5 separate regions of the Homo sapiens genome follow, and regions 2, 3, 4 and 5 are each linked to region 1. Evidence: promoter capture Hi-C in 16 types of primary human blood cells and fetal thymus (Javierre and others, 2016). All regions are on one chromosome and are shown on one strand. Each heading gives the region's core, a stretch centred on a gene start or on the middle of the fragment in contact. The rest is flanking DNA. Distances are from core to core; before and after follow the strand shown.

What was found. The method cuts DNA at HindIII sites, captures the fragments that hold promoters and counts their contacts. A CHiCAGO score of 5 or more calls a contact.
Region 2: a fragment that was not itself captured here is called in contact with the fragment with the promoter of RARS2 in region 1 in 2 of 17 cell types (total CD8 T cells and naive B cells); the score reaches 6.6 in total CD8 T cells.
Region 3: a contact is called between a fragment that was not itself captured here and the fragment with the promoter of RARS2 in region 1, in 1 of 17 cell types (neutrophils). The highest score is 5.3, in neutrophils.
Region 4: a contact is called between a fragment that was not itself captured here and the fragment with the promoter of RARS2 in region 1, in 1 of 17 cell types (neutrophils). The highest score is 6.3, in neutrophils.
Region 5: a fragment that was not itself captured here is called in contact with the fragment with the promoter of RARS2 in region 1 in 1 of 17 cell types (neutrophils); the score reaches 5.2 in neutrophils.

The regions. Positions count from the first base shown.
Region 1 is chr6:87,587,614-87,592,630 of GRCh38, forward strand. It overlaps RARS2 (arginyl-tRNA synthetase 2, mitochondrial), which reads right to left and starts at 2,374. Exons shown (of 20, transcript NM_020320.5): 1 at 2,309-2,374. The coding sequence starts at 2,344. It overlaps ORC3 (origin recognition complex subunit 3), which reads left to right and starts at 2,522. Exons shown (of 20, transcript NM_012381.4): 1 at 2,522-2,579. The coding sequence starts at 2,556. RefSeq lists enhancers at 1,504-2,465, 2,229-2,458, 3,839-4,339, 4,340-4,840. The HindIII fragment of the contact is 3,839 bases long and covers 229-4,067 here.
Region 2 is chr6:87,127,666-87,132,682 of GRCh38, forward strand. No RefSeq gene overlaps it. Among named protein-coding and RNA genes, the nearest start is that of ZNF292, 25 kb to the right of the region's middle. The HindIII fragment of the contact is 2,261 bases long and covers 1,902-4,162 here.
Region 3 is chr6:87,927,942-87,932,958 of GRCh38, forward strand. It overlaps LOC105377882 (a long non-coding RNA gene), which reads left to right and starts at 3,500. Exons shown (of 3, transcript XR_001744246.1): 1 at 3,500-3,702. The HindIII fragment of the contact is 2,900 bases long and covers 1,439-4,338 here.
Region 4 is chr6:87,908,054-87,913,070 of GRCh38, forward strand. LOC101928911 (a long non-coding RNA gene) reads left to right here. Exons shown (of 5, transcript NR_110869.1): 3 at 1,729-1,861; 4 at 2,626-2,745; 5 at 3,599-3,678. Among named protein-coding and RNA genes, the nearest start is that of SPACA1, 140 kb to the right of the region's middle. The HindIII fragment of the contact is 5,060 bases long and covers 1-4,925 here.
Region 5 is chr6:87,857,886-87,862,902 of GRCh38, forward strand. All of the region lies in intron 2 of LOC101928911 (a long non-coding RNA gene), which reads left to right. Among named protein-coding and RNA genes, the nearest start is that of AKIRIN2, 160 kb to the left of the region's middle. RefSeq lists an enhancer at 3,803-4,616. The HindIII fragment of the contact is 2,262 bases long and covers 1,677-3,938 here.

The DNA.
Region 1 (5,017 bases), core at 1,124-3,623:
GGCTTTGGGTAAGTTATTTAATCTCTGTGGATCTCAACTGACTCAATTATATAATAAGGTTAATACTTCTATATCACAGGGTTGCCATGAGCTTAAATGTGAATGTGTAGTAACTAGCACAAATATATACTCAATATATTAGTTCTTGTTTCTCCAACTTATCTTTTTCTTTTTTTTGAGACAGGGACTCACTTTGTCCCCCAGGCTGAAGTGCAGCGGTGCAATCAAAGCTTGCTAGTTTCAGCCACCTGGGCCCAAACGATCCTCCCACCTCAGCTTCCCAAGCAGCTGGGACCACAGGTGTGTGCCACTACACCTAAGTTTTGTTTTTTATTTCTTTATAGAGATGGGGGTCTCCCTATGTTGCCCAGGCTGGTCTTGAACGTCTCAGTTCAAGGGATCCTCCCACCTCGGCCTCTCAAAGTTCTGGGATTACAAGTGTGAGCCACCATGCCTGGTCCAATTTACAGTCTTTACAAAGAACACAGCCTTTGCAAAACTAAACACAATTTGTTTCTCATCATGGCACTATCTTTACTTAAGGGCTAAGAATGGAAAACGTCCACCCTTACACACAGCTTAGATACTAAGGTCCAAAACTACCTTCCCTGATATGGTTTACTGTCTACATTAACATGAATTTATTATTTTTTGTCTTCATTAGCATAACTTTACTGTTCTAGAAGACTTCTGCCCAAATAACTTAATCATTCATTATAAGAACTTCATGAGAAATCTATTAGCTTTTCACGTTTTTTATTTTTATTTTTTGTTTACAGGGTCTCGCTCTGTCACCCACCCTGGAGTGCAGTGGCACAATCATAGCTCACTGTAGCTTCAAACTCGTGGGTCCGTCCAAGTGATCCTCCAGACTCAGCCTTTCAAGCAGCTAGGACTACAGAGGTGCACCATCATGCCTGGCTACTTTTTAAAAAAAATTTTGTTGAGACGGGGTCTACCTATGTTGTCCACGCTGGTCTCGAACTCCTGGGCTCAAGCCATCCTCCCACCTTGGCCTCCCAAAGTGCTGGGATTATAGGCATGAACCACATGCCAGGCCTATTAGTTCTTCCAATAGAAAACCTCAATAGTTTATGCCTTAAGGCTTCTTGCACTCTTTGCTTTTCCTATCAATCTTAAACCGCTGTATCAGATCAGAGTCCAACCCTAATCAAGCCATCTTCCTCCAACACCCTCCTACCCTCTCCCTCTGAAAGACCAGCCTTAAGCCATACCCATCAGTAAAATCTGACCTTGCTTTCCCAGTTTAATACACTACCAAAGCTCTCAGTGGTGTTCTTCCTTATCCCAGTGAGCAATAAATTCAGCTGTCTTAACAAAATGTCATGTTGGTGATATTTGGCGAATTATCACCGGACAGGGCAGTACATCTATAAACATAAAGACAAGGCAGAGGGATTTCCCCACAAATGTCTAGAAATACTGTAAAAATGAGCCAAGATAAATTATACACCAGGCTAATTACGTCCACTAGTACATCCATTAATCAGAAGGAAATGGGTTAGCCAAGACCACAATAGAAAGTTTCCTTGCAAGGGTGGCCAATGAGTCTTAAAAATTCTTTTTGATTAATTCCACATTTATACTGCAATTTTGCCCAGCGCGGTGGCTCAGGCCTGTAATCCCGGCTCTTAGGGAAGCAGAGGAGGGAGGACAGCTTGAGCCCAGGAGTTTGAGGCCTGCCTGGGCAATACGGCGAGACCCCGTTCTCCACAAAAAGGAAAAACAAAACAAAGCAATTATATTGCAATTTTGTAAGCCCTTCCTCACAACAGAGCTGTTCAAATACGACCCTGAACCAAGAAAAACTGAGTCTCAGATAGCTCTTATATCTTTGGGCGTTACCAAAAACAATTCTAGGGTAGGCTGCCTAAGTGACTGCAAGAGAAATAAGCAGCTTTAAAATGAGGTCCTTCTGAAGAACAATCCAGATCCATCATCAATGTCACTAAAGTGTAAAGAACACTAACTTCTATGGGGTCTAATCATGGTCTAATGACTTGCCGCCACCCAGGTAAAGCATTCATAGCTGTGGGGTGGGAAGGAGAGAAGAAAGCACCAGGTACCTTTCAAAGTTTACTTTTCACCGAGACAAACTGATCCCAGCCGACGCTCCACAGGACTTCTGAAGCTCCACCAGCTCCAGAGAAGGGGGAGGAGGTGGTAGAAACTAACAGGATTCCGTGGGACCCACCCTCCAGCTGACTGAGGACTGGCCCGCAGCGGTGAAAGGCCTTTGGGGTCCCTAGCTCCTCAGGGACTCCTCTGCGCGCTCCGGGATCCATACCTGGCAAGCAATAGCGCGGCGAAAGCCGCACGCCATGTCCACCTCTACGGAAGTGCGCCGCAGTCCGCCAGTTCCGGCCTCGCCCCACCTCCTTATACGACCCGCCTCCCCGCGCCGGAAACCCGCCCCGGAGGGTGATGCCAGCCAATCAAGGAGCCGTGTGGCTCGCCACTAACCTCTGCCCTGCAGCCGCGAGGGCGCGCGGGAAATCCCGAGTGCATCTGGAATACGCAGAGTCAGTAAGACCATGGCTACGTCCTCGATGTCTAAGGTATGTGGTGGCCGATGCGCACTGTGGCTCTACCGCTGCCTCATTCCCCTTTGAAGAAGGGATGAAGCCGAGGTTACGTAGGCATCCCTTCCCTGGCTGGAGAGGAGGGAGGGAGCGGCGTACTGAGCTGAGGCGTCCTTGCTCCAGATCAGTTGAGGCCAACTTTGCTTGGGGAGCGAGGACGCGGATCTGCCTTGTGGTATGGCTAGGAGGATTTTTAAGTTCTGGTTGGTGGAGGTCGGATGTCCTGATGATGTGGCCCAGTCTCTCATTTTTCCATCTCACAAATACTGTGCGCCAAGCACTCCGTTAGGTACCAAGATGCAGTGGTAAACAAAACAGATTCAGTTTCTGCAGTCAAGAAAGTCGGTAAACATAGATAAACTGACGATCACAAATTTTAAGTGTTAGCAAGGAAAAGAGTTCTAGGCAGACAACAGAAGAGTGGGAAGAACCTAATATAGGTTGTCGGGGGTTAGCGGAGGCTTTTTGGAGAAAGTGACCCTTTCGCTGAGACCTGAAAAATGAGTAGAAGTTAGGTTAAGGATTAGGGCGAGGAGGGCAGAGAGAACAGCATGTTTCTTCGGCCCAGAAGATAGAAATAAAATGGCATATTAGAGGAATTTAAAAATCATAATCAGAAAGTAGACAAAGAGTGGGAGCGTCATGAAAAATGAGAATGAAAAAGTAATGTGGATGCGGGTGTGTGTGGTGGGATATCTTATAGACCTCCTCATGTTGGCTACCTAGATGGCAAGAAATTGCAAGACATAGTGTAGTTGGTAAGAAGATAAGCCCTAGAGCTGTATTGTCCAATGTGTTAGTCACTCACCACATGTGGCTATTTAAATTTGAGTTAAAATAAAGTAAGATTAAATAAAAATTCAGTTTCTCCGTTGCACTAACCACATTTCAAGTGCTCAATCATCACATGTGGCTGCAGCTACCATTTTAGATAGTGCAGATATAGGACATTTCTATCATTACAGAAAGTTCTGTTGGACAGCGCTGTTCTGGACCACAAAAAGTAAGACCTTGAGTTCTATTGTAAGTGCAGCGGGAAGCCCCTGAAGTTAAGCTGTCTGAGAAAGCTGAAAAATGCACATGAAGAAGCTACATTCTCCCTATGTTAAAACAATGGATTGATGAAGAAGGCTATGTCATGGATCTGATTTTTTATTTTGATTAAAACGGTTTATGAGAAGCAGTGCTTTTAAAGACTACATCTCAAGGAAAAAGGACAAGCCCTGGGGTTTAAGGTTATGCTAGTAGAGATTCAAAGGTAGTATTTTTATTAGAAATGGTACTGGTTTTATTTTGTCCTGGTTATAATGTTCTGTAGGTTTTGAATGGTCTATCCCTTAATCCTGTTGATTGCATAAGCACCTCTTATTTTTATGTATCTTGCAGAAAGTAAGATTTTTCAGGAAAGCATTTTTGGTATTATAACAAATGTCTGTATTGGGATGAGACCTTACATGAATAAGAAGCTTTAAGAACTATTTCATGAATTTATGGAACTGCAAGCTTTTTTTCTTTTTCTTTTCTTTTTTTTCTTGAGACAGAGTCTTGCTCTGTTACCAGGCTGGAGTGCAGTGGCGCGATCTCGGCTCACTGCAACCTCCACCTCCCCGATTCAAGCTATTCTCCCACCTCAGCCTCCCGGGCAGTTGGGATTACAGACATGCCCCACTACACCCAGCTAATTTTGTATTTTTAGAAGAGACAGGGTTTCACCATGTTGGCCAGGCGGGTCTCGAACTCCTGACCTCGAGTGATCCGCCAGCCTCGGCCTCCCAAAGTGCTAGGATTACAGGCGTGAGCCACCACGCCCGGTCCTTAAACATATCAAAACATTTTAGTGTCTCTTTCATCGTGAAATTTTCTGGCTGTTGGCCTTCCTCTATCTCAAACACCATCACTTGACCAGCAGTTCCAAATGGTTAACCATGTTACTACCACTGCCCTATATTAAGATCCTTTCTGATCACTCCTCATGTCTTGCTCCTTTGAAGCTCCTTTTTCCTTTACTGAATTGCAGGTGGATTTGGAAAGGAGGTAATGACAGGTTTGTCATGGTATCACATGATTTTTCTAAATATGTATGTGATTTCGCACACTTCTGCTAGTTGCAGATATAAGAATATAAGGCACAGGGCTGTGTGCAGTGGCTCATGCCTGTAATCCCAACACTTTGGGAGGCCGAGGTGGGTGGATCATCTGAGGTCAGGAGTTCGAGACCAACCTGACCAACATGGTGAAACCACATCTGTACTAAAATACAAAATTAGCCTGGCATGTTGGTGGGCGCCTGTAATCCCAGCCTCTCAGGAGGCTGAGGCAGGAGAATCGCCTGAACCCGGGAGGTAGAGGTTACAGTGAGCCAAGATTGTGCCATTGCACTCTAGCCTGGGCAACAGAGGGAGACTCTGTCTCAA
Region 2 (5,017 bases), core at 1,782-4,281, 460 kb before region 1:
ATTTATAATGTTTCTCCTACTTTGTGTCAATATGTTTAGGTAAACTTGTTTAACTTATATGTATATATATATATATATCACATATATCATATATATCAATATATATGATATATGTGATATATAGCGATATATATCACATATATCATATATGACATATATCTATATATGACATGTGTCATATATATGACATATATGTGTCATATATATGTCACATACATGTGTCATATATGTGTGTCACATATATGTGTCATATATGTGTCACATGTCATATGTGTCATACGTGTCACATATATGTCACATGTATGACACATATATGATATATATGTCATTTATCATATGTATGATATATATGACATATATATTTATCATATGTATGCTATATATGACATATATTTATCATATGTATGATATATACATGACATACATATGATATTTATCATATATATGATATATATGACATACATATGACATTTATCATATATATGATATATACATGACATACATATGACATTTATCATATATATGATATATATGACATACATATATTTATCATATATGATATATATGACATACATATGATATTTATCATATATGATATACATATATGACATATATGATATATATAATTATGATATATACCATATATCATATATATGGTATATATGATATATGATATATAATATGTGATATATACCATATATAATATATCATATCTATCATATCTATCATTGATATGATAGATATGATATGTATCATATATATGATATATATATCATAGATATCATAGATATCATATATATCATAGATATAGATATCATATATATCATACATATGATATATTATATATGATATATTATATATGGTATATATCATATATGATATATATCGTATATATGATATATATCATATGTACTATATATGATATATACCATATATATCATATATATCATATATATCATGTATATCATATATATCAAGTATATCATGTATATGTATATCATGTATATGTATATCATATATGTCATATATATGTATATCATATATGTATATCATATATGTATATCATATGTCATATATGTATATCATATATGTCATATATATGTATATCATATATGTCGTATATATGTATATCATATATGTCGTATATATGTATATCATATATGTCGTATATATCTATATCATATATGTCGTATATATCTATATCATATATGTCGTATATATCTATATCATATATGTCATATATGTATATCATATGTATCATATATACGGTATATCATATGTATCATATATATGTATATCATATATACGATATAGATGTATATCGTATGTATCATATATATGTATATCGTATGTATCATATATATATCGTATGTATCATATATGTATATCGTATGTATCATATATATGTATATCGTATGTATCATATATATGTATATCGTATGTATCATATATATGTATATCGTATATATCATATATATGTATATCATATATGATATCATGTATATCATATATCATGTATATCATATATATTATATATGGTATATATATCATATATCATAACTCCTTTCGGGGATATCATATATATATAAAATAAACATATATATAGTGAAACTGAACAGATTTGAAAACATCTGTCAAATACAGTCATCCTTTCACTGTGCATTTGATCTATTAGATAAGGGCTGAGGTTGAGGCTGGATTTTAAAACATTTCAAATGGATAATGACGAGCACCATAAATTAATTTACATTTACATTTCCAGATTATGAGAAACTTTTTAGAATCTGCTTTCCTTATAGTTTCAAGGAAATGCTGGTAAACTTGTTTAACTTTTCTATAGGTTAATAGACATCCTAAAAGTTATTCTTTTTGTGTGCCTGCTTCTTCATTCAAATATTTAAAGCTTTTCTGCTTTTATGACCCAGTACTGTTTACTATTGGCCCCCAGAATCCCACTGTAGGCCTAAAGGCAGTCCCCAGTTCACCTGACCCTTTAGAGGTATCTCAGTTCCTTGCTTCTAACAGATGTAGCAGGGTGGTTCCCAGAGTTGGATTTGTTTTCATCTTTCTTTCTCTAGCTTAATTTCTAAACTTTTGTTCTCCTAATATGCCATCAATATTTTTGCCATTTTCCTATTTTCTATTTCTAATTCTCTCTTTTTATTTTCTATTTCTAATTCTCTCTTTTTATTTTGTATTTTGTGTTTTATTTTATTTATTTATTTATTTTTGAGATGGAGTTTCGCTCTTATCCCCCAGTCTGGAGTGCAATGGCATGAGCTCACTGCAACCTCCGCCTCCCAAGTTCAAGCCATTCTCCTGCCTCAGCCTCCCAAGTAGCTGGGATTACAGGCATACACCACCACTCCCTGCTAATTTTTATATTTTTAGTAGAGACGGGGTTTCACCATGTTGGCCAGGCTGGTCTCGAACTCCTGACCCCATGTGATCTGCTCACCTCAGCCTCCCAAAGTGCTGGGATTACAGATGTGAGCCACTGTGCCCAGCCTATTTATTTATCTTTTTGAGACTCTGTCTCCATCTGTCACTCGGTTTGGAGTGCAGTGGTGCAATCATGGCTCACTGAACCCTCAACCACCCTGGGCTCAAGTGATCCTCCCGCCTCAGTCTCCTGAGTAGCTGGGACTACAGGCATATGCCAATATGCCCTGCCACATTTTGTATTTTTTTGTAGAGACAGGATTTCGCCATGTTGCCCAAGCTGGTCTCGAACCCTTGGGCTCAAGCCACCTGCCTGTCTTGGCCTCCCAAAGTGCTGGGATTATAGGCCTGAGTCACTGTAACAGCACTCTTTTCTTAATTGCCCCCCAAAACAATCAGTAACCTATTTTAGAAATAAAATTTTCATGCTTACCAAAACACATAATCAGAAATGAGGTTAAGTATACCAGAATTTCATATAAAGGGAACTTGCACTTGAAGAAAAATTACTGTCCTTACAAGTCTTCAAAAGTAGCTTCTAGTCATTACTTTCATGCAGACATCCCCTGATTCTGTATATATAGCACAGTCACCATAATTTATGAGATAATGTGACTTTCCCCAAAAGGTGGGGCTGATAATTTATGTTCCTGGCTTAGGAATGGCTTAGATAACTCAAGCAGTTTCTCTCCTACACATGCCCTCATACCTGATTCAAGCCATTGAACCAATCTGGGATTCATTGAGTCATTCAGTCTGAACATTCTGAAGGTTCTCTACACCACACTTTCCAAGAAGGCATTGCTATAGAGTCTGCTATTGCAGCTCAAATCATAAGCATTAGAGTGCTTTTCAGGTTTATACTTGTTCAACTAGACATACGCATCAAGCAAAAACATCTTGAGCTCTGTATATATGGTAATAAGTAAAGTTTATCATAAACAGAAAGTTTGTAATATGTACAAATTGTAAAAGTGTGGCCCTTACACAGGGAGATGTGAGGCTTCCTAATCTCTGAGCTAACATTAAGGGCTTCTTTTTCATTTGTGCCTAGTTCTGCTGTCTAAGTTATACTCTCTTAAACAGTAACAATTGGTGTCTCTTTGCCACTGGCATTTTGTAATTAGACTCAGCTCCAGCACTGACATGATGATATATAAGTGGTAAAAGACAGTAGTTTATGTTCATGATAATGCATTCCGGTAGACTAAAAGTCAATAATCACTTGACATTCAGAAAGCATCCTCTTGCTGGCAAATGCAATGCTTCTTAGTCAGCTCGGGCTGCCATAACAAAATACCATAGACTGTGTGGCTTAAACAACAGAAATTCATTTTCTCGAAGTTCTGGTGGCTGGAATCCAAGATCAGGATGCCGGTATGATCGGGTTCTGGCAAGAACCTTTTTTCTAGCTTGCAGAAGATGCCTTCTTGCTGTATCCTCACATGGCAGGGAGAGAAAGAGGGCAAGTTATCTGGCCTCTCTTCTTATAAGGGCACTAATCCCATCATGGGGCCCCAACCCTATGACTTCATCTAAACCTAATTACTGTCCAAAGCTCCATTCCAAATACTATCACACTGAGAGTTAGGGCTTCACATAAGAATTTCGAAGGGACACAAGTTATTCCATAGCAGCTTCATAATACCCTTTCAGAGTAAGTAATGAAATAGTTATGTTTTCTGAGAAAAGCACCTGGAGGAAGTAATGAAGCAACAGAAGCTTAGCCAAGAGGTATAAGTGAAAGGGCTTTCTTAAGAAACTCACACAAACACACACACACACACACCATGATTTCACAATTTAGCACCCAAGAAATTCCCTCAAACTGCAGCACTTGGTCCTTAACATAAGAAGCAATGCACTTGATTCTTTAGGGAAATTTACTTTTCAGAATAATTTTGGTGTTTTTTAACATTGCTGCCTGAAGACTAACCAAGGAGAAAAAACAAAAAGCTGTAATTCCCTTTTGCCTGCTGAAGTGAAGTCGTTTAGTATATCTACATCCACAATTAATCCTTAACAAAGAGCATTTCTTTACTCATTGCTGGATTGAACAACTTAAGAGGAATAAGACTTGTCATTTATTATTGGTTTTTAATTCTTTTGCATTTTTATACTTTCATGCTTTAGTGATTGAGTTTAGCCTAGAAGGGATTCCAGAAATAAAAGATCATCCTTTTGAAGACCTATTCTTTCCTTGACTGCCTTTTTTTTTTTTTTCAGAGTGGGGAGTTGTTTTATTTTTACTAAATAGGTTGCCACCTCCCACCCAAGACCTGCTTTCTCCATGAATCTTACTTCATTGTACTCTGAATTTTTCCTTTCTACGACTCTTAAAACATTGATTGTATGGGCCACATATTATTCCCTCTGTAGTTCTCTAAAATGATCACACATAACATTCAATAAATATTTGTTTAATTCATTGATTTTTTTTTTTTTTTTTTGTGATAGAGTTTTGCTCTCGTTGCCCAGGCTGGAACGATCTCAGCTTACTGCAGCCTCCACCTGCTGGGTTCAGGGGGGATTCTCCTGCCTCAGCCTCCCGAGTAGCTGGGATTACAGGTGCCCG
Region 3 (5,017 bases), core at 1,639-4,138, 340 kb after region 1:
GAGCATTAAATGAGACAACCCATTGTTAATGTTTAGCACAGTGTCTAGCACATAGTCATCACTCAGTGCATATTAACCATCATTGTATAATATTATTAACATTCTGATTCCAAAATTTCTGGCCCCATTTTAAAAACAGATAATCCGGTTGGGTGCAGTGGCCTGTAATCCCAGCACTTTGGAAGGCTGAGGCGGGTGGCTCATCTGAGGTCAGGAGTTCGAGACCAGCCTGGTGAACATGGTGAAACCCCGTCTCTACTAAAAATACAAAAATTAGCTGGGCATGGTGGTGCAAGCCTGTAATTCCAGCTACTTGGGAGGCTGAGGCATGAGAACCCCTTGAACCCAGGAGGCGGAGGTTGCAGTGAGCTGAGATCGCACCACTGCACTCCAGCCTGGGAAATAGAGCAAGACTCTGTCCCAAAAAATAATAAAAATAATATAAAAAACAAAACAAAACAGACTCCGAGATACAGAGGAAATGGGCTTGCCCTTAGGAGAAACCAGAGGGCCAAGCACAATGCCAAGAAAAAAGTCAAAATCTTTATTTCCTGTTCAGATCCTTAAATACAGCGCTTATGAGGTCTCTGCCTGAGGGCCCATGGTTTTCAACTTTGCTCAGACCTGCATTTAAGCAGAAGCTCAGGCAAAAGGACGATGGGGAGGGATTGTCTTCCTCAGTATTCTTCTGGCCTTTGAGGAAGAAATGAAAAGAATTCTGTAATCATTCATTGACATGGCTTCCGTGTAAAAATTTTTGAGCCTCAGGCTGAAGAAAACAGAGCAGGGGAAGATATTTAGGAGGGAAACTATTTTACACAAAGGTAACGTGTGTGAGAAATAAAGACTTTTTTTTTTTTGAGACAGAGTCTCGCTCTGTCACCAGGCTGGAGTGCAGTGGCACGATCTGGGCTCACTGCAACCTCTGACTTCCTGGTTCAAGCGATTCTCCTGCCTCAGCCTCCCAAGTAGCTGGGATTATAGGCATGTGCCACCACGCCCAGCTAATTTTTGTATTTTTAGTAGAGACAGGGTTTCACCACGTTGGCCAGGATTGTCTCGATCTCCTGACCTCGTGATCCGCCCGCCTCAGCCTCCCAAAGTGCTGGGATTACAGACATGAACCACCACACCCAGCTGAAATAAAGACCTCTTAAAGCAGAAGGCAAAGGTACATGTCTCTGGAAATTCAGAAGTGTTATTTAGTGATCTAGATGAAGAATATATGGGAGGAGACATGAGAGCCTCTGTACAGAATCATTCATGTAAATGTTTGCCCAGAAACCCAACTGACTGAGGCCATAATTCACCCTTGGGAAACCACCAGAGAAGCTCATTGGATCATAGCTATGAGCGAAGAGCTGTTGCTAGCGAATCAATACTGCTATCTCTATAAGCACCCACCTTATATCTCTGTGACTGCATCTAATTTTTAATAAGCTTGTAATCAATGATTTTTATTATTTTGTATAAATTTCCAAAAGGCTAGTTCAAGTAAAAAAAAGAAATCCTGAACATTTTCAGCTGGAGAGTTTTTAGGAATAATTACATGTACATTAAGCAATATTTTTCTGGTGAAGGTGTATATTTTTCTCTCCTTCCTTCCTTCTCTTCCTGCCTCCCTCCTCTCTTTATTTTATTCCAGAGAGACTGCCATAGGTTTACCAAATACCCGAATAACCCTTTCTTGTTTTATCTGACCCATTCATCTTGTACACGTATTTATTATGATATGAGCACAGAGACTTTTGTTTTCTGTTTTAAACATTTGTTTTTGGATGTTCGGCAGATTGCATGCCTAAAGAATGCTTTGACTAAGAATTCCTAAACACAGATTATGGCTTTGGGCAGAGACCTCTTTCCCCAGTGCCTCAGGTTCCTAGTCTCCACTGCTGACGTGCAGTCAGAATGAACTAATTCACACCCCAGTCTAGGCATCTGGGTCACTTCGTGCACATGCTGTGAAAAGGCCGCTCCTTCCCTTTCTTCAGCCACTACTCGGCACTACTCAGGCACTTCGGAAGCAGTGACTCAGGAGACCAGCAGGTGGCACATGGGAACCAGACTACACACTCCTGTGGCCCAGGACAAAGAGATGGGAGAGGAAGGATTTCGTGCAAGGCCAGCTGGCTGATTTCCTCAGTGTTGGCGGATTGAATGCTGCCCATGAGGACTACAGAAATCTTCATGGACTGCAGGACCTCAATGATTAAAGACAGGGAGGCAGGGAGGAGGGCAAGATCAGGGTGACACTAAAGGATGGGGACATTACAGTCAGTCTTTCAACCTCTGCTAATCCTCTCCCTTAACCCCTTACCTCACAGGGGGGTTGTAAGCTGAAGGACATATCATAGGTAAAGCAACAAGCCTGGTTGGGGAGCTTAACACTGGTAGCTGTTAAAATAGTTATTATCTGGTTGGGTTGAACACAATCCAGTGGTGTTATTTAGGCATTTTTGACTAATCTAGAGGTTGTATGCAGGTGTTTCTGATTCATTCATCTGTTCATTTGTGTTTCCAACCAGTGACTATATATGGAGTAGGTTCTCTTCCCTTTGCATGGCTTAAGTACACGAAGGTGCACAAGGCCCAGTCTTCAGGAAAACAAACAACCCACTGTAGTGAAGTCAGTAGGAGGATGAGAGATAGGTTATATGGAAAAACCAACAATTTAACTTGATAATCAACACTCTAGGCAGAATAGTTAGGTTTTGGGATGATGGTTTTGATGGTGGGGAAGCTAAGACAGGAAGATGAAGGAAAAAAGGACCATTTGCAACCATATATAAGGAAAGGGCATTTATAAATCAGAATAATTTCTAATTGTTAAAATAATCACTATGCTCACACATTCTATTTAACCTTCCTCTTTTAGCTGGATATACTGTGGGGCTTTTATAGAAAGCAATACTTTGAGGGTAATTTAGCCACTTTGAAAAAAGAATATATATAATATATGAAGGGTTATTTTTACAGAGAACAATGCTCAGTTACTCCCTGTTTCCAGAGTAGAAGAGGAAAAGAGCTTTACCTAGAGCAAGAAAATAGAAAAGGCTTTTTAGCACTGAGAAGTGTTCATTCCTGGTGAGTTACCCCCAGAAAATGTTGGCATTGTTTTAGATCTGGACTAGTTTAGATATGGCTCTCTTAGGGAAAAGGAATACACAAGAGTGCTTTTTTTTTTTTTTTTTTTTGACAAAGTCTCACTCTGTCGCCCAGGCTGGACTGCAATGGTGCAATCTCGGCTCACTGCAACCTCCGCCTCCTGGGTTCAAGCGATTCTCCTGTCTCCACCTCCTGAGCAGTTGGGATTACAGGGGTGCACCACCACACCCAGCTAATTTTTTGCATTTTTAGTAGAGACAGGGTTTCACCATGTTGGCCAGGCTGGTCTCGAACTCCTGACTTCAGGTGATCCACCCACCTTGGCCTCCCAAAGTGCTGGGATTACAGGTGTGAGCCACTGCGCCCGGCCCACAAGAGTGATTTTTAAAGGCCCTGTACATACTTAGGATGAACAGAATCTGTATCTTTTCTAGAGAAAAGAAAGACAAAGAATGGCTTAATCACTGACTGTCAAATAAATGAAGGCCTATCAACTGGAGAGAAACTGTTAGATAAAAGAGAGAGAGAACTAAAACAAAAGATCTACCCTAGAAGGAAGCACCATTTTGATTCTAAAGATTGTGGGAGTCTCTTGGGGTAAGTAATAAGAAACTATGGAATGTTAGTTTGGGGAAAATAGGTTCTCTTCCTCTTGTGTAAATGGGCAAATTTTTGGTCACAATTTCAATATGTGCTTATTGGCTGAGTTGGGTGGGATGTTGACAAGATCACCTCTAAGATCTTCATGTTCTGGAAACTTCCCAGTGGTGGGGTAGACCTCATTTCCAAGTTGGCAAAGATGGTGAACATCTAAATGAAGCCTTTGCAATGAACTAGGTTCTTACAGTCTCATCACAGACTAAAACCCAAATTTCCACAAATCATTTAGGAATAATGCATCCAGCTACAGGTGAAGTTCTAAGTGGAAATGGACCATCCCTGCCTTTGGTCTTTGCCAGACTAAAGCTAAAGTGGTAGAAAATACCTGAGACTTTTTATAATGCAGAGTATGGATTTTACTCAGAGTGCAGAGGACAGAATTGCACAGGATCTAAGGGCCACAAAGTGATTTTTAGTAAATATTCAACCACTTTAGGAGAATTCTAATAAATAGTCAAGGTAGAGAAATTGGGGTCTAAATCCTAAGACTCATGCTCCCTTCTGAAAAAATTGTATCTGCAAAGATCAGCAGCCAAGTGAAGAATACTAACCATATTTATTAACATCTCAGCAAGCTTCCAATTACAACAATACTACCCCACTTGCCCTGTGAAAAGTGTCTCTGGTTAATTTGAAACCTAGCATGTGGCTTAGGCTGAAGGCCACAGGGGAGCCAAAGAGCTTCTTCCTAACAGGGAAGGTCCTGACTATCCTGATTCCCACACAAGAACAAGAGTTCATAGAGCAAGAAGCGGACAAGGAGACACAGGCCTGCCCTTGCAGGCTGGTCCTTCCTCAGTCAGCAACAGCGAGTAGAAGACCAGGTGCTTGCAGCTGCCTATCACTGTTCAACGCTGTGCCCTTACCCGATGAAGGTCAGGGCTGGAGAGCAGATTAGCAACTCTTCCTCTTGTGTAAATGAGCAAGCAACAGGGTGCTGTGTGTATAATCAAGGCGGAAACAAGGAGATAGGAAGAAAGTTCTTTCAACCAAATGCCCTCCTTAACATTTCTGTTACCACTTATGTAACCCAGAGCATTGTCCATCTGATTAAATCTGAACATTAATGAAGAATAGCTTCATTTTAGCAGCCTTAAATGAACATGAACTCTGGAAGGAGAATTTGTAACACTTATTCCTGATTTTGTTGTTGTTGTTGAGCTTTAAAATCCTTAAGTTGGATCTCATTTTAGATAAGGACTGAGGTTGAGAATAGGTTCAGAAGTCCTAATGGTCTCTTTGTATTTCAATA
Region 4 (5,017 bases), core at 1,146-3,645, 320 kb after region 1:
ACATGAAGTCTATAAAATGAACTTGCTAAATTCTGAACTTCAAACAACTTTCTTCTCTTCAAAATGCCCCAATCTTCATGCTATACTTTTAATTTATGATAAAGACTTTATTATCTTTTATGGTGGAAAAAAGAGGGTAGCATATGAGTTAAGACTTCTGGTTATCTGAGCTTCAAGTCAAGTTAATTCCCCAAACTTCCAGCTGTACCTGATACCCTGTCTGCTACATGAGGCACAAAACTACAAGTGCCCCCTAAGGAATTTAAATGTAAGGAGTTTCAACAACTCCTGAGGAGAGACAGCATAAGAAGAGGACGTAAAAACCATATCCCATTTCAAAGTGAATTTTCAAAACCCAAAACACTCTAAAACACATCCTGAAACCAGGTAAGAAAATAAAGTTTCAATTCAGAAATAATTAAGATTGAAAATAAACTTGTCCTGGTTAAAGCAAATGACTGGGTTGGCAGAGGAGGGGAATGAACAGCTGTCCAGCTGTTACAGGTGTTTAGGAAAATGCGACACAGTAGGACTATGCCCTTGAAGCTGGGCTAGACTCTAGGTTCTTAAGTAGAGTGTCTCCTGTGGCATAATTTTTTGATTAGGGTTCAAAAATGGAGCAAAAATTTATTTTGGAGGACAAAAGAAAAACCCGCCTCTAGAATTATCCACGTGGTAAAATGTCAGATATGATGGACAAGAACAGGAATTTTCTGTTTTGCCACTTTCAGAGTTAATTTTCTTCTTCTTTTGAAATCAGGAGGAATTACAAAAACCTTTTATATCAGATTTGCAAATACCAATAAATTGCCCACCCCTACTTCTGTCTTTATCAGCTTGCCCTTTTGACAGGCAGCACACAGTAAAATGAATAAATTCAGCACATTTTCCTGTTCACCAAGCATAAATTATTACTAACTGTGGTGAGAGGCTATTTGAAAAGCTGTTTTATTTGAGAGAGGAGCCTTCTTTTATCTACAGATGATTCTGTTTGAAATCAAAGTAGATATTGTCTTATCTTTGCGACCTCAGGAAACTGAACTATGATGACGTATTTCCATTCTAAAGAGGGCAATGAGAGGATGCAGGCATAAGCTGAATAAACTTGACTAATCTATTCCTGTTCTTGGTTCAGATTCCCAGTCTTTGAAATACTAGGAGAATTACCATAGCATTAGTATGTGATACGACACCATTGCATGTTATCTGGATTGTGTTATAACTGGCAGGCTTCAGCTCTGGGTGGAGGGATTGGACTTAGGGGTGAACTCAGAAATCCCTTCCAAGTGAAATGCATTATGTGTCTCTCATACCATGGCCCTTTAGTAATGGGCTGTTGCTCTGTAATTTTTGCTGGTCTTTCAGCTTTCATGCATTAAGTCATGATTTCCGTCAAAGAAGCTCTATGATTCTCACACCTGAAAGGATTGTAGCAATTTGATGAAGTATCAGTTTGAAGTAACACTGACAAAAATGTATATCTATCAAATGATTATAGCTTTTATTCAATGACAAACAGCATGGAAATTCATAAATAGTTTTTATGCAGTAGCACATTTATTCAGTCCTCATTTCATTTGATGCCTGTCTTCTGCCTAGTGCTTTCAACATAATAAATTGGGCGTTGAACCATGAAGCTGGCATTTAGCATTAACATGTCATATTGTACCGCTTACCATTTTGCTATTTCCTTGATTGATTTTTCTTTCTATTTATTTTTTATTTCAGAAGAGTGCAATGATTTCAGGATCAATGATTTCTGAAAATGAACATTTTTAATAAAGCAGCTCTGGACTGTGATTCCTAACTATTGGGGCATTGGCATTAAAGAAAAGAGATTGGACATTTTGAACCTTGTGTGGTAAGGCAAAAAATAACACTGAATCGAAGTGTCTTGGCTCTGAGCAGGGCTGACTCATAACCTTGGCTCTCCAATTCAGAAGGAAGCAGTGTTTTGGGGGGACTGAATCACCGGCCCAGGCGGCACGTGCGTGAGGTTGAGCAGTGAGACCAACTGCTCGACAAGCCATGTTGGTTGTTCTCTCAGTGAAGTGAAAAGCATGTGAAAATTGCTCATCCTCACACGTTAGGTCTTAAAATAGCCTGCGCTGTTGATCCATTTATGAGAAATATGCCACCAGTTTTCTTAGCTCACCTGGGTGAAAGTTCAAATGACCAAAAACCCTGTGTGGTAGAAACACATTTGAAATATAAAACTTTAGGGTCAACTTTGACTGCTCTTCCTTTCCTGCCAGGAAATAATTTCTTCAGTCACCCCCATTTTTGCCCTGAATGCCTCTTATGGAAGTGACACCATGACTCTTGTTACCTCTCACCTCATCAATGCCATGGCCATTAAAGGGCATGAAGGGGTTAGGATTCCTCAGTTGCAAGCAACAGAAACCAATTCTAGGTAATAAAATGGAATTACTGGGAGGACACAGAATCAGCAGGAGGATGGACAGTTGGGCTTGCAAATAGGTAGGAACAGGGCACCTCTGGAAGGCCAGGAAGCAGGAAGCATAGCATCTGCTTCACACAGGTTGAGTCTGGCTGGGGCCAGGACAACTGTGGCCATGGATGATGTCTAATCATTCCTTCTGACTTTGCATCATTGGTTTATAGTGTCAAAATGAAACTTTTTGTCCCTGGATATGTTGAGACGGGAAGAAGGAAAATCTGATTCTATGGTTTACTACACTCCAGGAATTATCATCCCTCTAACACCACACATGATGGAAAGAGGTAATTATCAAAAAGGAAACTGGAGGGGCATTGGGAAGTGAGAAAGGATGTTGGGTGACAATTGTCCATGAGAAGACATTTTTCCTCTTCCAACTTTTCATCTCTCCAACTCATTTCAGTTCAATTCAAAAAACATTAAGTTTCAACTTTGCACAAGGCATTGTTAGATATTGGGCATGTTGAAAAAGAGGTTGTCTACACTTTGCTGTCAGTCATGTTGCATTTAGTGGGGCCATGCACTCTTATGGCTTTTCATTGAGGAGTGGAGATGAAGGATTGCCACATCTGGCATGCATTCCATCATTGAAGCCTTCAGTAGAGCTGTGAGCCATGTGAAGCCTTTGATCTCTTCTACATTTCTCACCTGCACCTCTCTGGTATTCTTTTGCCTTCTAAGGCTCACTACTCCCTCTGCTTCCCTTTGTGTCTTAGCCTTACTCTTAGCTACCTGCCAAACAATATCATTAAGATGTTAGGTGAAAGCAGGCATAAGGGATCTTATTGGGGTGCTAGAAATGTTCTAAATATGGATTATGGTGATGGTTACACAACTCAGTAAATTTACTAAAAGGCAGTACATTTTACATTTAAAACAGGTGAATTTTATGGCATGCAAACTATACCTCAACAAAGTTGTTAAAAAGATGTCAGGTGATGATCAAGGCCAGAAAAGGCACTTGTTTGGTTGGAAAAGGCTTTTAGAAGGGAAAGAGTAAATGAGAGTGGTGGAATGATGGCAGGAGTGTTTGACAAGCCAGCCTAAGGCACCAATGGTACCAGAGTTGCAGAAAACCAAAGCTCAGGAGCAGCCCAACTAGTGACTGCTTGATTATCTGTCATCACTTTGCTTCAGAAAACTTGGGGCTCAATGGTTGCTCCCAAAGAGTACCCAAATGCTGGTCCATGAGCTGAGACTGGGCACCTCACACTACAGGTGCTTCCCCAGCAGAGAGCAATGTCCTGGAAGGGAAGATTGTTGTTCTGTGACCTCCCTTTTCCTCCCAATTTCTCCCCCTTCATCTTTGGAAGTTCACCTGATGGAAGTGGATAATATCATACAGTTTGAACTTTATTATTATTTTGTGTTTTTATTTTATTTTTTTCTTGTTGAATCTTATGCAAGTTTGGTGTCCTGATCTACAAAGGCAGGAACTCTTTCTATTTCTTTGGCATCTCGCACAGCATCTTCAGTTGCATTGGAACTTTTAAAGTATCCTTCTGTTCTCTGCTGGCCTCCCCAGATTTCACTGAGCTGTGATTTGTGGAAGGGGAATATCTTCCCAAATACAAGTGTATTGGAATCAACCTTCCTGACACTTTCTCTAATCTGCCCCCTGCTCCTCCCCTTTGGTGAATGAATGGCTAATGCAAATGGTCAAAGATTGATATTTCTTTTGGAAAATTATAAAAGGATGGGGGTATGTTCCTCAATAGAGAATGGACATATGTCTATCTCTCTAAAAACAAAATAAATAAATAAATAAATAAATAAATAAATAAATAAAGCGGGCTCTGTCTCATTTGTCAGTTAAAAGGGCCACCTCCTCCTTGCTTTGTACACCAAAGCAAGCTCTTCCTATACTGATGATACTGATGAGGGGAGACAGGGATTTTCACTTTCTGTTCTAGCTTTTCTAACTACAACTAGGGTGCTACTCAGGTGTCCCCTTTCCCATCAGTCTGTCTGTCCTCAATTTGAGGTAGGAGATATGTAGCCAAACCACATTCTCCAATTTAGCTGTTTCCAGGAAGCCTAAACCTTGGGCAGAGGTGTATTTAGATAGTTGCTTAGTCTGTTATAAGTCCAATATTTGGATTCTTGTTCAGATGTCTGTTTGGGCATGTCTGCTCTATTGGCCACAGCAATGGAGAGGAAGGAGAGTGAGTAGAAGTTTGGGAGCCCAAACACTACCTTAAACCCCTAGCATGAGATAAGTCCAACAGTTGGGTTAACCAGATGGTTGTGCAATTTTAGTTAAGATTGCCCTATATCTTAAGTAGTAATGGTTTAGGTGGGCAACAGTGCATTCTATATGTGTGTGTAATAGAGAGTTTTCATCCCCATGGCTATACAGAGCAGCAGTGGGGTGAGATTCTCAACTAGGTTACCAAAACTGTAGACCCTAAAGCCTACACTGATTTTAAGAGGACCCTGTTACTTTGTGCAAGACCTGCTAAGAAGCTTCTGAGTTTGGCCGGGCGTGGTGGCTCATGTCTGTAATCCTAGCACTTTGGGAGGGCGAGGTGGGCAGATGTCCTGAGATCAGGAGTT
Region 5 (5,017 bases), core at 1,558-4,057, 270 kb after region 1:
AAGCCAAGGAGGGCAGATTACTTGAGCCTAGGAGTTTAAGACCAGCCTGGGAATCATGGTGAAACGCCATCTCTACAAAAAATACAAAAATTAGGCAGGCTTGGTGGTGTGTGACTGTAGTCCCAGCTACTCGGGAGGCTGAGGTGGGAGGATCACTTGAGCCTGGGGAGGTCGAGGCCGCAGTGAGTCATGATTGTGCCACTGCACTCCAGCCTGGGCAACAGAGTGACACTCTGTCTCCAAGAGAGAAAGAGAAAGACACACACACACACACACACACACACACACACACACACACAGAGAGAGAGAGAGAGGAGTGGGTTTCATCTAGCAAAGTTACCTGGAGAAGGTGTGTTTGAGTTCTGTCTTGAAGGCCTAGAATTTGAGTAGGCACAGAGGAGGAAACAGGGCATTGCCCACAGGGAGAGGCACCTATTCAAAGGCATATTTTAGTGTGTCATGTGTGCACGTGTGTGCAGCAGGACTGATGGGGCTGGTCAGCATGAAGGTGAGAGGGTGAGGAGATCCAAGAGGACTTAGACTTGGCAGTGGAAAGGTTGTTAACTGATTAAATTTCAGACTCAATGAGAAAACCAAAGGAATTTATCTCACTGAATAGAAAAATGGATACATAGAAATTTCTGGGGCATGTCTGTAAAAGTAGGGCAGAGCAGTGGCTTGAGATAACATCTTGGATAACTCAAGGGCTGTCCCACTTTTGACTGAATTACTCAGGAATTCAGAAAATTGCTTCACAGTTGTGTTCTTGCAATCATATTCTGCCACGGGCTTCCAGCAGGTGGTATATTAGGAAAAATATTTACATAAAAGAAGATAAAGAGTCATTTTATTTTCATCCTAATCCATGTTCTACCTTAATTGCCTTATGGAAAAATCCTGTTTACTTGGCCCTCTTTCTTGTGCAGAAATATAGATCATGACCATTGGAAAATGGAATTGCAGTCTTCTGCCACAGCAGGAAAATACATTATTGTTGGGTTGGGTGTTTCATTAAAGGTTTCTGCAGAGGCTGAATATCTTTATCTAAAATTCACAAAAATGCCTCAGGCCAATATCCTAAAAAAATGAGAATTATTTACCTGGAATCTCCTTGGTTCTCTCTCTGTTGCTCGTTTTCTTTCTCTTTTCTTATCTTGCTGATTATTTTACTGTGGCTCTGTACAGCCATAAGATTCTCTACTAATTTACTACTTTTAACCACTCTCGATTCAGTATCAGAGTGATAAATTGTTTGATTCTTTTTTCTGTTGTGGAGATCAGGAAGTGTAGGAGATTTATACCTAAATATTCTTCTTCCCGATTTAAGAAGGAACAATAGTCTCGAATTCCTAGGAAAAGATAATTTGGAGAATCCATACCAGAACGAGTGTTCCAATGAAGATGTTTTCTTTGCATGCTGATTTCTTTCTTGTAGGTTATCTCTTTATTGCAGAACCACAGAAGTTGGAGGGGTCTCCAGAGGATGTCTAAGATGAATCACTGCCTCAGGCAGACACAGACCAAAGAGTGGTGTGAAGTTAGATTCTGGGCCCAAACAACCATTCCAGAAAGAGCTCTATAAACTTTCATTATTAATAAATAAAAACATTCTGAGATGCTCTGCTAACTAAGTTTTATGGTCAATATTTATAGCTAGTTACTAAATTACCACTAAAAGCTTATCACAGGTCCATTTCTAAAGATGCATATTATCTAACAGGGTGGTTGTTCTTAATCACATTCCATTTTCACACTTAAAATAGGTAAAAGCACATATCCATGTTCCCAAAGGTTTGCATCTCTAATAGAGTTAAAATTGCACTTATGCATTTTTCTATAACTTTGTTAGTCTTAGCGTTGAATACCAAACTTGTCTTTACACAGGCAAAACACAGCTAAAGTTGTAAGCACTGTCTGGCCATTAAAACTGTAAGCACTTCACTTGACAGACCCAAATAATCAAGGAGGAATAACTTGGGGGAACTTATATTGACTCTTTCAATTCTCTTTTTATAAGGAAATCGTTTCCTGTGTCCAATTTGATTATAGGAAGAAAATGATGAAGGTGGCCTCACACATGCCTAGCTTCCTCCTTTTGCCGGGCTCTTACAAAATACCCTTGACTATGTGGCTTAAACAACAGGCATTTATTTCTCATAGCTCTGGAGGCTGGGAAGTCCAAAATCAAGGTGCTGGCATATTTGGTTCCAATGAGTACCTCCTTCCTAGACTGCAGACAGTCGCCTTTTTGCTGTGTCCTCACATGGCAGAAAGACAGAGACCAAGCTCCCTGGTGTCTCTTATTATAAGGACACTAATCATATCATGAGAGCCCCATTCTTATGACCTCATCTAAACCCATTTATCTCCCAAAGGTCCTGGCTCCAAATACCATCACATTGGGTATTAGGGCTTCAACATATAATTTTGTGGGGACAAAATTCGGCCATATCATATAGAATACAATACTATTATAAGTATACAAATTATAAGTAGACAGCTCAATAAATTTTTGCAAAGTGGACCAGGCATGGTGGCTCACACCTGTAATCCCAGCACTTTGGGAGGCCAAGGTGGGCGGATCATGAGGTCAGGAGATCGAGACCGTCCTGGCTAACATGGTGAAACCTTGTCTCTACTAAAAGTACACAAAAAAATTAGCCGGGCATGGTGGTGGGCGCCTGTAGTTCCAGCTACATGGGAGGCTGAGGTGGGAGAATGGCATGAACCCGGGAGGTGGAGCTTTCAGTGAGCCGAGATCGCGCCACTGCACTCCAGCCTGGGCAACAGAGCGAGACTCCATCTCAAAAAAAAAAATTTTTTTTTGGCAAAGTGAGCAGACCTGTGTAACCAATGTCTGGATCAAGAAACAGAATATTACCAGCAACATTCTCTCCCTGCCCCAATAGTATCACTATTCTGACTTCTTGACACCATCGATTGGTTTTGCCTGTTTTCGAACTTTTGAATACTCTGTGAAGAATATCTATAGCAGCACTCTTTACAATAGCCTAAAGGTGGAAGTGATTTGGTGAACATGCGTACCCATTTCTGTTGGGTATAGACCTAGAGATGGGATCGTGGAGTCATCAGGTATGTGTATGCTCAGCTTTACTAGATATTGACAAACAGTTTTTCCAAACTGGTTGGGCCAATTTAAACCCCCATGAGTTTGAGAGTGCTTATTGCTCCACACCTTCACCAACACTTTGTATTGTCAGTCTTTTTCATTTTAGCCATTCTAGTGGTATGTAATTGCATCACATGTGCTTTAATTTGTGCTTCCTTGATGACTAATGAAGTTGAGCATCTTTTCCTATTTTTAAAATTACAAGTGCTTTTAATTAGGATACCATGACTGCCAAACAGCTCCACCCTACTTTGTGTCATCTGAAGGACTAAGCTGTGCATTGTAATTCAAGTCTTCACTGTAATGATACTCTATGGTGCTTGGACTGACATCAAGCCACTCGGCTCGATTATACTTCGGTCTGGCCTTTGACTAAGTGTTAAGCCATATTTTGATAAGTAATTAATGAGAATATAATGTAGACTAGACTTGAATCTCTGGAGGAAATTAGCTCTAATTCTGCCTCCCTTATCTACATAACATGTAGATCAACCCTGTAGTAGAAGAACTACCTCTCAGGCTGTTCTTCATGGATCCATGCAAGGTTATTTGAACCTAGTGCTTCTCTGAGTCATGTCAAATAGATAGTTTGATGATTTGTCCTTGTGTATCCACAGGAATTAATGTTAAAGGATGTGTTATAATTGTCAGTCTCATGTGTCTTCCTCCTTTCCCTGAAACTGTCAAGGCAGTGGGACTCTATGCTGGCAGGAGGTTGGAACGTTAGTTGCTTTAACATCACCATTTCCAAGGTTCTCTATCTCAGGCAATCCTTTCTCCTTTTAGTTGTGTCTGTTTAAAAATACCAAGCTTTTCAGATGGCCAACATCCTCTTGATGCTAGTTTTCATGCGCGTCCGTGTGAAGAGACTACCAAACAGGCTTTGTGTGAGCAATAAAGCTTTTAATCACCAGGGTGCAGGCGGGCTGAGTCCGAAAAGAGAGTCAGCGAAGGGAGATAGGGGTGGGGCCGTTTTATAAGATTTGGGTAGGTAAAGGAAAATTACAGTCAAAGGGGCTTTGTTCTCTGGTGGGCAGGAGTGGGGGTTGCAAGGTGCTCAGTGAGGGAGCTTTTTGAGCCAGGAAGAGCCAGGAAAAGGACTTTCACAAGGTAATGTCATCACTTAAGGCAAGGACCAGCCATTTTCACTTCTTTTGTGGTGGAATGTCATCAGTTAAGGCAAGGACCGGCCATTTACACTTCTTTTGTGGTGGAATGTCATCAGTTAAGGCAGGGCAGGGCATTTTCACTTCTTTTGTGATTCTTCAGTTACTTCAGGCCATCTGGGCATATACGTGCAAGTCACAGGGGATGCGATGGCTTGGTTTGGGCTCAGAGGCCTGACACTAGTCAGTTCACTGTGGTCCACCAATGGAGTTGATTATGAAATTTGAGGTAAGGATGCTGACTTTTGGAAGGTGTCCCCAGGTATCTGCTTGGTAATCTTATGGAATGATATATTATTATTTCTCCCAAAAGGGAGCCACTCTAATAATACATTGTTCAGTGAACTTTGAGTTTATTTAAAAATGATGCATTAGAACCACTGTGAACTTTAGAAACTGCATGTTCTGGAAACTATCTGTAGAGTTTCCTTAAGAAGTATGTTATTTGCTATGCTTTTTAGTTGGTATATCTTTTCTTAAGAATATTGGTCCTAATATATTTTTAAAACTTACAGATTTAGACTTGTCTTTGAGTTTTGTACTTAGATTTGCTATCACACTGTCCTTGGTTTTAACATTCAGGAGAAAACCACATTGAACAACCCAATCTCCTTCTACCAGGTAATTTTTTGGACATCTGGGATTTGAAAAGGTGCTTCACTTTGATTAGAAGTGTGTTCTGTTATTCTCTATTAACCAAGCACCAGATAATTATTAAGAA